Regions from separate parts of the Homo sapiens genome. Here regions 2 and 3 are each linked to region 1. Evidence: promoter capture Hi-C in 16 types of primary human blood cells and fetal thymus (Javierre and others, 2016). All regions are on one chromosome and are shown on one strand. Each heading gives the region's core, a stretch centred on a gene start or on the middle of the fragment in contact. The rest is flanking DNA. Distances are from core to core; before and after follow the strand shown. Region 1 holds the start of POLE2 (DNA polymerase epsilon 2, accessory subunit). Region 2 overlaps KLHDC2 (kelch domain containing 2). Region 3 overlaps NEMF (nuclear export mediator factor).

Evidence for each region. Contacts are between HindIII fragments. The CHiCAGO score rates a contact against its expected background, and 5 or more counts as called.
Region 2: a fragment that was not itself captured here is called in contact with the fragment with the promoter of POLE2 in region 1 in 2 of 17 cell types (megakaryocytes and erythroblasts); the score reaches 10.1 in megakaryocytes.
Region 3: a contact is called between a fragment that was not itself captured here and the fragment with the promoter of POLE2 in region 1, in 2 of 17 cell types (erythroblasts and megakaryocytes). The highest score is 6.3, in erythroblasts.

What each region holds. Positions count from the first base shown.
Region 1 is chr14:49,685,753-49,689,896 of GRCh38, forward strand. It overlaps POLE2 (DNA polymerase epsilon 2, accessory subunit), which reads right to left and starts at 2,462. Exons shown (of 19, transcript NM_002692.4): 1 at 2,384-2,462. The coding sequence starts at 2,451. RefSeq lists enhancers at 1,699-2,460, 2,461-3,220 and a silencer at 2,525-2,574. The HindIII fragment of the contact is 3,892 bases long and covers 998-4,144 here.
Region 2 is chr14:49,780,210-49,784,005 of GRCh38, forward strand. It overlaps KLHDC2 (kelch domain containing 2), which reads left to right. Exons shown (of 13, transcript NM_014315.3): 9 at 4-113; 10 at 494-566; 11 at 2,161-2,248; 12 at 2,333-2,385; 13 at 2,621-3,796. The coding sequence ends at 2,744. NEMF (nuclear export mediator factor) reads right to left here. Exons shown (of 33, transcript NM_004713.6): 33 at 1,874-3,796. Among named protein-coding and RNA genes, the nearest start is that of KLHDC2, 14 kb to the left of the region's middle. The HindIII fragment of the contact is 1,037 bases long and covers 1,588-2,624 here.
Region 3 is chr14:49,803,052-49,806,899 of GRCh38, forward strand. NEMF (nuclear export mediator factor) reads right to left here. Exons shown (of 33, transcript NM_004713.6): 19 at 2,970-3,082; 20 at 186-243. Among named protein-coding and RNA genes, the nearest start is that of KLHDC2, 37 kb to the left of the region's middle. The HindIII fragment of the contact is 3,414 bases long and covers 198-3,611 here.

The sequences.
Region 1 (4,144 bases), core at 1,212-3,711:
GGGTTACAGGTGCACATCACCACGTCTGGCTGGTTGGTTTTTTTTTTTGTATTTTTAGTAGAGACAGGGTTTCATCATGTTGGTCAGGCCGGTCTCGAATTCCTGACCTCGTGATCCGCCCACCTCAGCCTCCCAAAGTGCTGGGATTACAGGCGTGAGCCACTGCGCCCAGCCAAGTCCTGCTCATTCTTTAAGTCAGCCCAAACCACTTCTGCAGTGAAGTTCTTCCTTGACTCTAGGGCAGTTTATACACCTTATCATAAACTCTCATAGCCCTTCTTTCCTGGAATCCCTTTCACAATTGAGATTAAATAGCTGTAAAATAGTCATTTAATATCCATGGTAGACAGACTTCTAAGATGGCCCCTAATAATCCATTACTCCTGGTAGTTACACCTATGTAATCCCCTGCCCTTAAGTGTGGGCTGGACCTAGTAACTTGTTTCTAAAAATAGAATATAGCAAAAGGGATAGAATAACTTACTGTATTATAATTTTGAAAGTAAAATTTAAAAGTAAAAAAAATTTAAAAATAACAAGATGTCACCTCCTTGATTAGGTTGCCTCAGAGTTACTAGAAGACTCTCTCTCTTGATGAAGCCATGTTGGGGGCACACATGGCAAGGGACTGAGGATAGCCTCCAGCCAACAGCCTGCCAGGCAATCAGGAACTGAATCCTGCCAACAACTGAATGAGCTTGAAGCGAATGCTGTCTGGACAACATTTGAGATGATCCATCTTGACTGCAACCTTGTGAAAAGACCCTGAAGTTGAGGACCCAACTAAGCCACACCTGAATTCCTAACCCACAGAAAATTTGAGATAATGTGTACTGTTTTAGCCTTTAAATTGTGGGGTAATTTGTCACGCAGCAATAGAATACATTATCTGCCCCCTACAAAGCTCTTGCTCTCTATTGCACCCCCTTACCCCAGCACGGTGCTTTGCAGCTAACAGATTTAAGTATACTTATGACTGAAATAATTAATGAACAAAAGCTTAATATTAGGTCAAATTCTAAGCGAAAAGAAAGTTAATTCATCAGTTCCTCATGCTTTCAAAATGTCAAGGACCAATTGAACAAAATTCATTATTTTCTCCCAAGGCATCTCCCAAAGCACAGTTAAAAGTCCCATAAAACTCACAAAACCAACCAAAAATCTACACACACAAAAGCAATAAAAACTGATACAGAGAGGTATATCCAATCCAGCAGGTATTTCAATATGTATAAAATATTGTGTTCTAGGTCAGGCGCAGTGGTTCACGCCTGTAATTCCAGCATTCTGGGAGGCCACGGCGCGAGGACTACTTGAGCCCAGGAGTTCAAGACCAGCCTGGGCAACATAGCCAGACCCCGTCTCTAAAAAACATACAACAACAAAAAATCAGCCAGGTATGGTGGCCCATGCCTGCAGTCCCAGCTACTTCAGCCCAGGAGGTTGAGGCTGCAGTAAGTCAAGTTCGCATCACTGCCCTCCAGCTTGGGCGAGAGTGAGACCATGACTCAAAAAAAAAAAAATACATATATATATATACACACACACCACACACACACACACACACACACACACACACACACACGTACATATAGAACTCTAAAACACGGAGCAGATTTAATGAGAGAAATCTTGGGAAGGTTCATATGTTCTATAGGTCCTCAAAAACACGGATATGCCCAGGAAACCTGACTTTCACATAAATTGGCAACTGCAGACGTGCAAGTGGGCTTTCTCGGGTCTCTCATCTTATGTCTCAGCAACCTTCCCGGGAGCCTGAGAGCTGTCCAGGTCACAATGTTGATAACCGGCTGCCATAGATAGGTTGCAGCTTCTCGGGCTCAGTTTGACATGTGCAGAAGAGCCTCGGCCCGCCTAGAAGAAACATTAAACTCCTCGCATGGGTCGGGGAAACCAAAGAAGGCACGGCAGCCTCAAGATCCACCTCGCTTCTTAGAACTTTTTTTTAATGGAGTCTCTCTCTGTCGCCAGGATGGAGTAGAGTGGCACGATATCGGCTCACCGCAACCTCCTCCTCCCGGGTTCAAGCGATTCTCCTGCCTCAGCCTCCCAACTAACTGGGACTACAAGCGCGCGCCACCACGCCCAGCTAATTTTTGTATTTTTAGTAGAGACGGGGCTTCACCATGTTGGCCAGGATGGTCTCGATCTCCTGACCTCGTGATCCGCCCGCCTCGACCTCCCAAAGTGCTGGGATTACAAGCGTGAGCCACCGCGCCCGACCGCTTCTTAGAACTCTGAAATTTAAGGTCAAGCCCCCTCTCGGCGCGCGGGGAGCCGCCGCGGTGCGTCCCGCTGCCGCACCAGGCAGACGGGCCCCAGCTCTTCCCTCTCGCCCTTCAAGCTGCCCGAGCCCACTCACCCACGGAGCAGCAAGCCCCGCAACTTGAAGGCGGAGAGCGCCCGGCTCCGCAGCCGCTCCGGCGCCATATTTGCGATTTGGCGCCACCGCCGCAGCTCCGCCCCTTCCCGGGCGCGCCCCTCCCAGCTCCGGCCTCGGCCCTGGCCCGCGTGGCGCTAAACCCTGTTAAGATCCCTGCTTGGTCTCCGCTGCCTGCGCCGCAGCAACTCAGACCTTACAGTTCGCAACCCCGGACCGAGTAGGCTGAAAGTGGAGACCACCTCGCGCTCCTTTGCTGCCGGGAAACTGAGGGCCAGAGCGTCTTCCCTGGTGTCGGGCTGCGTTGAGCCAGCCACAGCGCTCTCACCGCTGCCCTAGACATTGCAGGACTGCGGCCGAGCTTCCCGGACACAGGATCCCCCTTCTTTCGAGGCCATGAGAGCTGTTGGGTTCCCTACTTCGCACAAGCTCTGGAAATACTGTGCCTCGACATTTACCGGAAGCTGTTATAAATCTCCATCGCTCCCACCTACCCCGATTTTTATTTAACTTGAGGGCTTCGTATGCGCCATGCACTGTCATAAGCACTTTAAATGTGTGAATTCATGTGTTGCTCATGACAGCCCAGTGAGCTGTCTACTGTCTTTTCCACAACAGCCTCATTTTACAGATGAGAAAACTGAGACACAAAAATGGTAAAGGACTTGCTCAAGATGAAACGACGAGTTAAATGGTGTAGTCAGGATTTGAACTCAGTTATTCTGATTTCAGGTGGACTGTCAATCTGCCACACTTCAAAACGCTTGCTCCAATGAGTTGACTAACCCGTGGAGTGCTTATAAGTAAACACGCGGCTTATAAAACAGGAGGATGATTTCACAGTACCAATATAAAGTGACCTCCAACGTATACGGGTTTTTTTCTTTTTTAAAAAAAAGCGAAGTTTAATGAAGGAAGGGAAACAAAAGTATATGTATTTGTTTTTGCATTTTAAAAACCTCTGGGCCCGGGCGCGGTGGCTCACATCTGTAATCCCAGAACTTTGGGAGGCCGATGCTGGCAGATCACTTGAGGCCAAGAGTTCGAGAACAGCCGGGCCAACATGGTGAAACCCCGTCTCTACCAAAAAAAAAAAAAAAAAAAAAAAATTAGCCAGGCGTGGTGGCGCGCGCCTGTAATCCCAGCTCCTGGGGAGGTTGAGGCAGGAGAATCTCTTGAGCCTCGGAGGCGGAGGGTGCAGTGAGCCGAGATCGTGCCACCACTCCAGCCTGGGCAACAAAGCAAGGCTCTGTCTCAAAAACAAAAAAAGCCGGGCGCAGTGGTTCACGCCTGTAATCCCAGCACTTTGGGAGGCCGAGGTGGGCGGATCATCTGAGGTCAGGAGTTCGAGACCAGCCTGACCAACATGGAGAAACCCCGTCTCTACAAAAATACAAAAAAATTAGCCAGGCATGGTGGCGCATGCCTGTAATCCCAGCTACTCGGGAGGCTGAGGCAGGAGAATTGTCTGAACCCGGGAGACAGAGGTTGCGGTGAGCCGAGATGGGGCCATTACACTCCAGCCTAGGCAACAAGAGTGAGACTCTGTCTCAAAACAACAGCAACAACAACAACAAAACAACTCTGGAAGGTTAAATCAGAGACCACAAAAATGGTTAACTACAAAGGGGTGAGGGGATAGGGATGAAAGTGAAAACTTTCTTTACAGTGAGACTTTTAATCCATGTGCATGTTTTACATATTCAAAAAATAGAAAATAAAAAGGTGAGCTTAAAATTGAAT
Region 2 (3,796 bases), core at 856-3,355, 94 kb after region 1:
CAGAATTCCACAAGGCATATGCCCAGTTGGTCGATCTTGGCACTCACTAACACCAGTTTCTTCAGATCATCTTTTTCTCTTTGGAGGATTTACCACTGATAAACAGCCACTAAGTAAGTCCTTGAAAAATATGATAATGAAATCATCATATATCATCCATATCTAATAGCTGAAAATGAGTCTATTAGAGACTGATGAGACGGCTTATAGGGTTGGTTGGAAGGTTTGAAATTAATTTTGATCCTGTAACATAGCTGTAATTGTACTATATGGCATACTTCTGTTCAATAAAGAACCTGGAGCACTTAAGAGCCCTGCTGAAGGGCTACAACATGCAAAGGGCTTACTTGGCTAATTGCAGGGGGGGGAAAAAAAAGAAAATATACTCTCTGTATCTGCTCATGATCTATTACCTTTCTTGCCAAAGCTGTGCCCTTTAAATGTCAATGTCATATTGACAGACTAACATACTTCATTTCTTTGCTTGAATCAGGTGATGCCTGGACTTACTGCATCAGTAAAAATGAATGGATACAATTTAATCATCCATATACCGAAAAACCAAGGTATTTAAAAGCAATTCATATACTGAATATGCATAAGACATAAGAATTGAGGTTTTGGCTGCATTATATCCAGCATTCTTATTTATAAAAATCTCAGCATTCACTAAGGTTTGAAATACTTCTCAAAGAAAAGAAAACCAATGTTATCCTAGTATCGAATGATCTCCTTTCCGTCATCTGTGCATGAAGAGTAGGGCTGGATTTTTATTTTTGCTTCTTCCTTCTGTTATAAAATTGACACATAGTTAAAATATACAATCAAGCTTTTCACTTCAATGAGTTGAACTGCATCTAAGTTTATTAAAAATGAGGGTCGGCCAGGCGTGGTGGCTCATGCCGGTAATCCCAGCACTTTAGGAGGCTGAGGCAGGTGGATCACCTGAGGTCAGGAGTTCCAGCCTGGCCAACATGGTGAAACCCCGTCTCTAGTAAAAATGCAAAATTAGCTGGGCGTGGTGGCGTATGCCTGTATAATCCCAGCTACTTGAGAGGCTGAGGCAGGACAATTGCCTGAACCAGGAAGGCAGAGGTTGCAGTGAGCTGAGATCGTGCCTTTGCACTCCAGCTTGGGCAACAAGAGTGAAACTCTGTCTCAAAAAAAAAAAAAAAAGGGGGTAGAGGTGCTGGAATGGGTAAAATGTTTAAACCTTAATCACATGGGAGGCGAGGTACAGTGGGATTACAGGATTACAGCTGTAATCCCAGCACTTCTGGAGGCTGAGGCAGGCAGAGTGCTTTAACCCAGGCATTCAAGACCAGCTTGGGCAACTTGGCAAAACCCCATCTCTACAAATAATAGAAAAATTAGCTAGGTGTGGTAGCATATGCCTGTAGTCCCAGCTATTCAGGAGGCAGAGGATGTAGTGAGCTGAGATTGCACCACTGCACTCCAGCCTGGGTGATAGAGCAAGACTCTGTCTCTTAAAAAAAAAAAAAATACATGGGGAAAAAACAAGAACTGTCAATTAGACTTGCAGTAGCACTGTATAACAAAGATGAAGAAATCAAATCATCCAAAAAAAGCTTATTAAACACTGATAATTTTCTCTTGTTAATCTCAGAACAAAATGCTAAAGGAAATGATACAGTCAAAATTCATGTTCAAAGCCTGCATTTTTTCCCCAAGTATCTAAACCAAGTATAGTCATGCAAGTAAGACTTCATTTGCACAAATGATCTCTCCATAAAACTACCAGGCTTTCTGAGACTTTATAGTTTACTCAAGCAGGGCTTTCACCATCCCTCAGACGTTCTGTGTAAGGCCAGTTGGCCCTACCTATGGAAGAAGAAGGCATATACTACTCAGCTCCCATACGATTTTTATTGCTAACAAAGACCTAGAGAACAGATCGTTCAGTTCAAACTCCTCATTGCATAAATGAGAACGACCAGAGAGAGAAAATAATATCCAGATAAAATAGATATTGATTGATCTGCTTTTGCTACTTTCCCTTAAGATTTTACTTCTCGCCATGATGTTTTGGTCTGAACTACCTTAAGATCGCTAGTCTTTATTTCATAGCTCTATTCTGTAGTATAAAATGGCCAACTGGTGTTCTGGGTGGCTTCAAACTCGTTTTTGTTTTAAATGCAGGTTATGGCACACAGCTTGTGCCAGCGATGAAGGAGAAGTAATTGTTTTTGGTGGATGTGCCAACAACTTGCTTGTCCATCACAGAGCTGTAAGTATACTACCTTCACATTATTACTGAAACTTACTTGCAAAGCATTTGCTTTTAAATGTGTTCTTCCTATTTATTTTTCAGGCACACAGTAATGAAATACTAATATTTTCAGTTCAACCAAAATCTCTTGTACGGTAAGTAACTTTGTACTTGGCACTTAGATTATTTAAAATTGTGTTTCCTAAGACTTAGCACTCTCGAAAAACTAGGTTTATGGATTATTTAAGGGCAATAAAACTTCATTGCTATAACCAGTTCCTATGAAAATCTTTGAAGAAAGAAAGAGGGATGTTTTATGTAGTTTTTCAAGTGAATGTACTTCCAAACAGTAAAGTGAAATTACTTTTCTCTTTCCTTGTCCACTTTCAGGCTAAGCTTAGAAGCAGTCATTTGCTTTAAAGAAATGTTAGCCAACTCATGGAACTGCCTTCCAAAACACTTACTTCACAGTGTTAATCAGAGGTTTGGTAGTAACAACACTTCTGGATCTTAAGGCTTCATAAATAATGCCTATGATCACCTTGCATGGACAGCAATCCTGTAAACATCACAGAGTGGCATCATTTGTATAATTATATGCATTGTTGTAGTTTGCACCTGTTGGTTTTAATGTGCATGTGAATGGCCTAGAGAACCTATTTTTGTGTCTAAAGTTTACAATAAATGTATTTAACACCAGTAGCTGTCCTCTATTAAAGTAAAGTAATGGTTGGGCTTTTTACCCTGAAGAATGGTTGCTACATTTTCTTTTCAGTAACTTCAGGATATGTATCTGTAGAAACATTATAGTCTTACCATCATCAAAATGCTGAAGTCATTTTTTGAAAACATTATAGATTTTTTTTTTTTTAATGGCAAGAGTAGTCTATAGTTATGTAACCTAGTGTTGTAAATACAATATAATAAAGGTTTTTTTTTTTAAACATTAATATTCACATTATGACGAAGCTGGAAAAACAAAGTGTGGAGGGACCAACAACTGTTCAGTACTTTGACCTTAATGCTTCAGTGTAGGGGCTGGAGCAAGTGGTCATGCTGAATACAGGCAGGTGCTGTCCAGTCAATTAAAAAGTTTTTTTTTAATTAATAGGTTTTATAGCTCATGAAGGAATGGAAATAATGATGACATCATTTTCCATTCTGTTAAGAGACAGAGGAAAAGTGGGTTAGAGTCTTTAGTGGTAAGCCTAAAATGCGCTTCTGGTATTATAGGTTAAGATACTCTAACGTGCTATATTGGTAATTAATTACTAAAGGTGGAAATTAAAATGGTACAGAACTGAATCAGATTACAAGGAAAAAATTAAGATCAAACCTGAAGGTCTACAAATGAATAGAAATGATTAAGCTGAGTCATGAGAATTATTACTTATATTTTACATTTTGGTCTAATATTTTTTTCTGACAAGTATCAATGAAAGCAGAAGAAAATCCACTCCAATACTTAGTTTTCAAGACACAATCCTAAATATTTAAACCCCTTGTAGCTGGCCTATAATATATATATATTAGATGTTATATACAGTAGACTTACCAAGTCAATAG
Region 3 (3,848 bases), core at 655-3,154, 120 kb after region 1:
ATGAAGAAGATATGACAAACACTAAACTTGTCACACCAAGGCAAAAATTTCTTTACTTCATAGCAGACTTCACATAGGAAATCCGAGTAATTTGTTTTTGTTCTAAGAGTATTTGTAAACTGTCTCAAACCTGTCTCCATAATCCATTGACAAGTCTAGTGATATTTTTCCTGTCAAGACATTACCTCTTATCATGAAGCTTCCTGTTGTCAAATATTCTCCAGTTGGTGCTGTTTTAGATACCTGAAGAACACAATAATACATTATATTCTTATTTAAAAAAATACTCTAGTTTTCTTTTTCCACTTGAGGAGAAAGTAAAGTCAGAGTCAAGTAAGCCACACTGTCTTCTGAAAAGTTTATAATTTCGTACAAATTCTCAATACTAAAGGGAAAGATACCCCTTTAATGACAGATAAGCCTTTGGAAGTAACAAAGAAAAAAACAAAGAATCCACTACATCAATAATTTTCTTTCTTTTTTTTTTTTTTTGAGATGAAGTCTCACTCTGTTGCCCAAGCTGAAGTGCAGTGGCACAATCTCGGCTCACTGTAACCTCCACCTCCTTGGTTGAAGTGATTCTCCTGCCTCAGCCTCCTGAGTAGCTGGGACTACAGGCACGCACCACCATGCCCAGCTGATTTTTGTATTTTTAGTAGAGACGGGGTTTCACTATGTTGGCCAGGCTGGTCTTGAACTCCTAACCTCATGATCCGCCTGCCTCGGCCTCCCAAAGTGCTGGGATTACAGGCGTGAGCCACTATGCCCGGCAATAATTTTCAAATGCCATGGACGACAGCCAGAACTGGTCCACTCATCTCTTCCAGCATGAGATGTAATGAGAAAACTAAGGATAGGTTAATGAGCTTATCATAAAGCTATGTTTACTAAAATAAAGCTCTATTTATTAAATAAAATCCTTGTCTAAGATACTGTTTTTGATAATAAAGTTTTGCCTTTTTTTTTTTTTTGAGACAGAGTCTCACACTGTCACCCAGGCTGGAGTGCAGTGGCTTGATCTTGGCTCACTGCAATCTCCACCTCCCAGGTTCCAGAGATTCTCCTGCCTCAGCCTCCCAGGTACCTGGGATTACAGGTGCGCACCACCACGCCCGGCTAATTTTTGTATTTTTTAGTAGAGACGGGGTTTCACCATATTGGCCAGGCTGGCCTTGAACTCCTGACTTCATGATCTGCCCACCTTGGCCTTCCAAAGTGCTGGGATTACAGGCATGAGGCAAAAGTAACCTTTGTCTATATGAAATAGCAGATTTTTAAAAATATATCCTATTTTGGCAAAACAGAAAGTGAGTAAACTTATCCCATAATTTAAAAAAATTTTGGGGCCAGGTACAGTGGCTCACACCTGTAATCCCAGCACTCTGGGAGGCCAAGGCAGGTGGATTGTGAGGTCAGGAGTTCAAGACCAGCCTGGCTAAGATGGTGAAACCCTGTCTCTACTAAAATTAGCCAGGCGTGGTGGTGGGTGCCTATAATCCCAGCTACTCGGGAGGTTGAAGCAGAGAATTGCTTGAACCCAGGAGGCAGAGGTTGCAGTGAGCCGAGATCACGCCATTGCATTCTAGCCTGGGTGACAGAGCAACATTCCATCTCATAAAAAAAAAAAATTTATACATCTGTGAAACCCCCAAATCTTGAGAGTATCTTTATTAGTCATAGTTATTAAAATAGCAAGGGGCCAAGTGTGCTAGCTCATGCCTGTAATCCCAGCATTTTGGGAGGCGGAAGCAGGAGGATCACTTGAGGCCAGGAGTTTGAGACTGGCCTGGCCAACATGGCAAAACCCCATCTCTACAAAAATAGAAAAAGTAGCCAGGTATGGTGGGACACTCCTGTAGTCCCAGCTACTCAGGAGGCAGAGGCAGGAGAATCGCTTGAACCCAGGAGGCGGAGGCTGCAGTGAGCTAAGATTGCACCACTACACTCCAGCCTGGACAACAGAGCAAGACTCCATCTCAAAACGAACAAACAAACACAAAAAACCAGCAAGGGATTAAAAACACTAAATTTCATTCTAAAAAATTTCTTAATGAAAGAATTAAAACCACTTTTATAACAGCACTGAGGTAGCAATTTATAATCCCCCTATATGACAATATCACAGCACAGCATATAATATAAAAAGATATAAAAATGAAACTAAATCTAAGGGAGTATAATGAAACTGAATTCTTTTTATCCTACTGTACAGCTTTAGGAACTTATAAAAGTACATCATCATCAATTATAATTCTCAAAAGTATGATAAGAAATCAATAGCAATGTGAGGTCAAATATAGAATGAAGTATCACCAAACTCAACAGCACTGGCCAGGCACCATGGCTCATGCCTGTAATCTCAGCATTTTGGGAGGCTGAAGCAAGAGGACCACTTAAGGTCAGGAATTCGAGACCAGCTTGGCCAACATGGTGAAACCTCATCTCTATAAAGAAAAAAAAAAATGCAAAAAAACCCCAACAACATCATTAACCACAAAGAAGGGCAATTAATAAAAACAAGTGAATTTAAAAAAAAAAACAAACAGGATATGCCTACTTTTCTGGAAGTGCCCAAGAGAATTCAGAATATTCCAACAAAGATGAACAGAAGAAAGGCCTTTTAGGTCAGTATGCCAATAATAATCAATAATAACTGGAACACTCTTTATCCTGTATAATTGTGTGGATCACTCTCTCTTCATTTACCTCTCTGCTCAAATCCTACCTTCCTAGAAAGGTTCCCCCAATACTTCATCCAAAACGGTATCCCCTATCACTCTCTATCCCCTTCCATGCTTTTAAAAACACTATTTTATGGCACTTATTACCTGACATTATGTACATATTTTCCTCTACCAAAAAGAGTTAGCTCTATTGAGCCTTGTCTGCTTTATTTACTTCTATACTCTCAAAATTTGGCACACAGTAGCTCTTAGTAAATTAAGAAAAAGGACAAGAGCCCTTATTACCTGATGATGGTACACCCACCAAGCACTAGTGATAACTCGTGCATCCCAAGCAGCACTGTAGCAAAGTGCCATTGTGCCAGCTTCAGTCAAGGTCCGTGGGGGGATGGGTTCTCCTAGAATAACAATGCATAATGTTTCAATACCAAAGTATGGACTTTCTCCAGAGCAAGATATGAAAATCACATGCCGCATGACAGGGTCAATGATATGTGTATATATATATATATATATATATATTTTTTTTTTTTTTTTTTTTTTTGAGATGGAGTTTCGCTCTGTTGTTCTGGCTGGAGTGCAATGGCGCAATCTCAGCTCACTGCAACCTCCGCCTCCCGGGTTCAAGCAATTCTCTGCCTCAGCCTCCCGAGTAGCTGCAATTACCAGCGCCCGCCACCATGCCCGGCTAAATTTTTGTATCTTTAGTAGAGATGGGGTTTCACCATCTTGGTCAGGCTGGTCTTGAACTCCTGACCTCATGATCCACCCACCTCGGCCTCCCAGAGTGCTGGAACTACAGGCATGAGCCACCGAACCCGGCCGGTCAATCACATATCTTAAATACTAATACATTTTTACTTCACCATTATAAAAAGTTACTATTTTAATTAAAAATGTATTTTTAATACTCCTATTTACAGAGCAAGCTTTTAAATGACCTACGTAAATAAAACATGTCAGAGAAGAAATATCCTCTCACATCAATAATTCTAACTTCACTCCAGAAAAGATAATTTAGAGAAATCCATTTAAAGTTTGAAGACTTCCAAAATTAAAATAGATTGGCTGAATCATGAACATGAAGAGCATATATGAATAACATGTCCCTTATGGTTAGATTTCAAATATTTTTAAATTGGGGTATAATTCACATGCCATAAA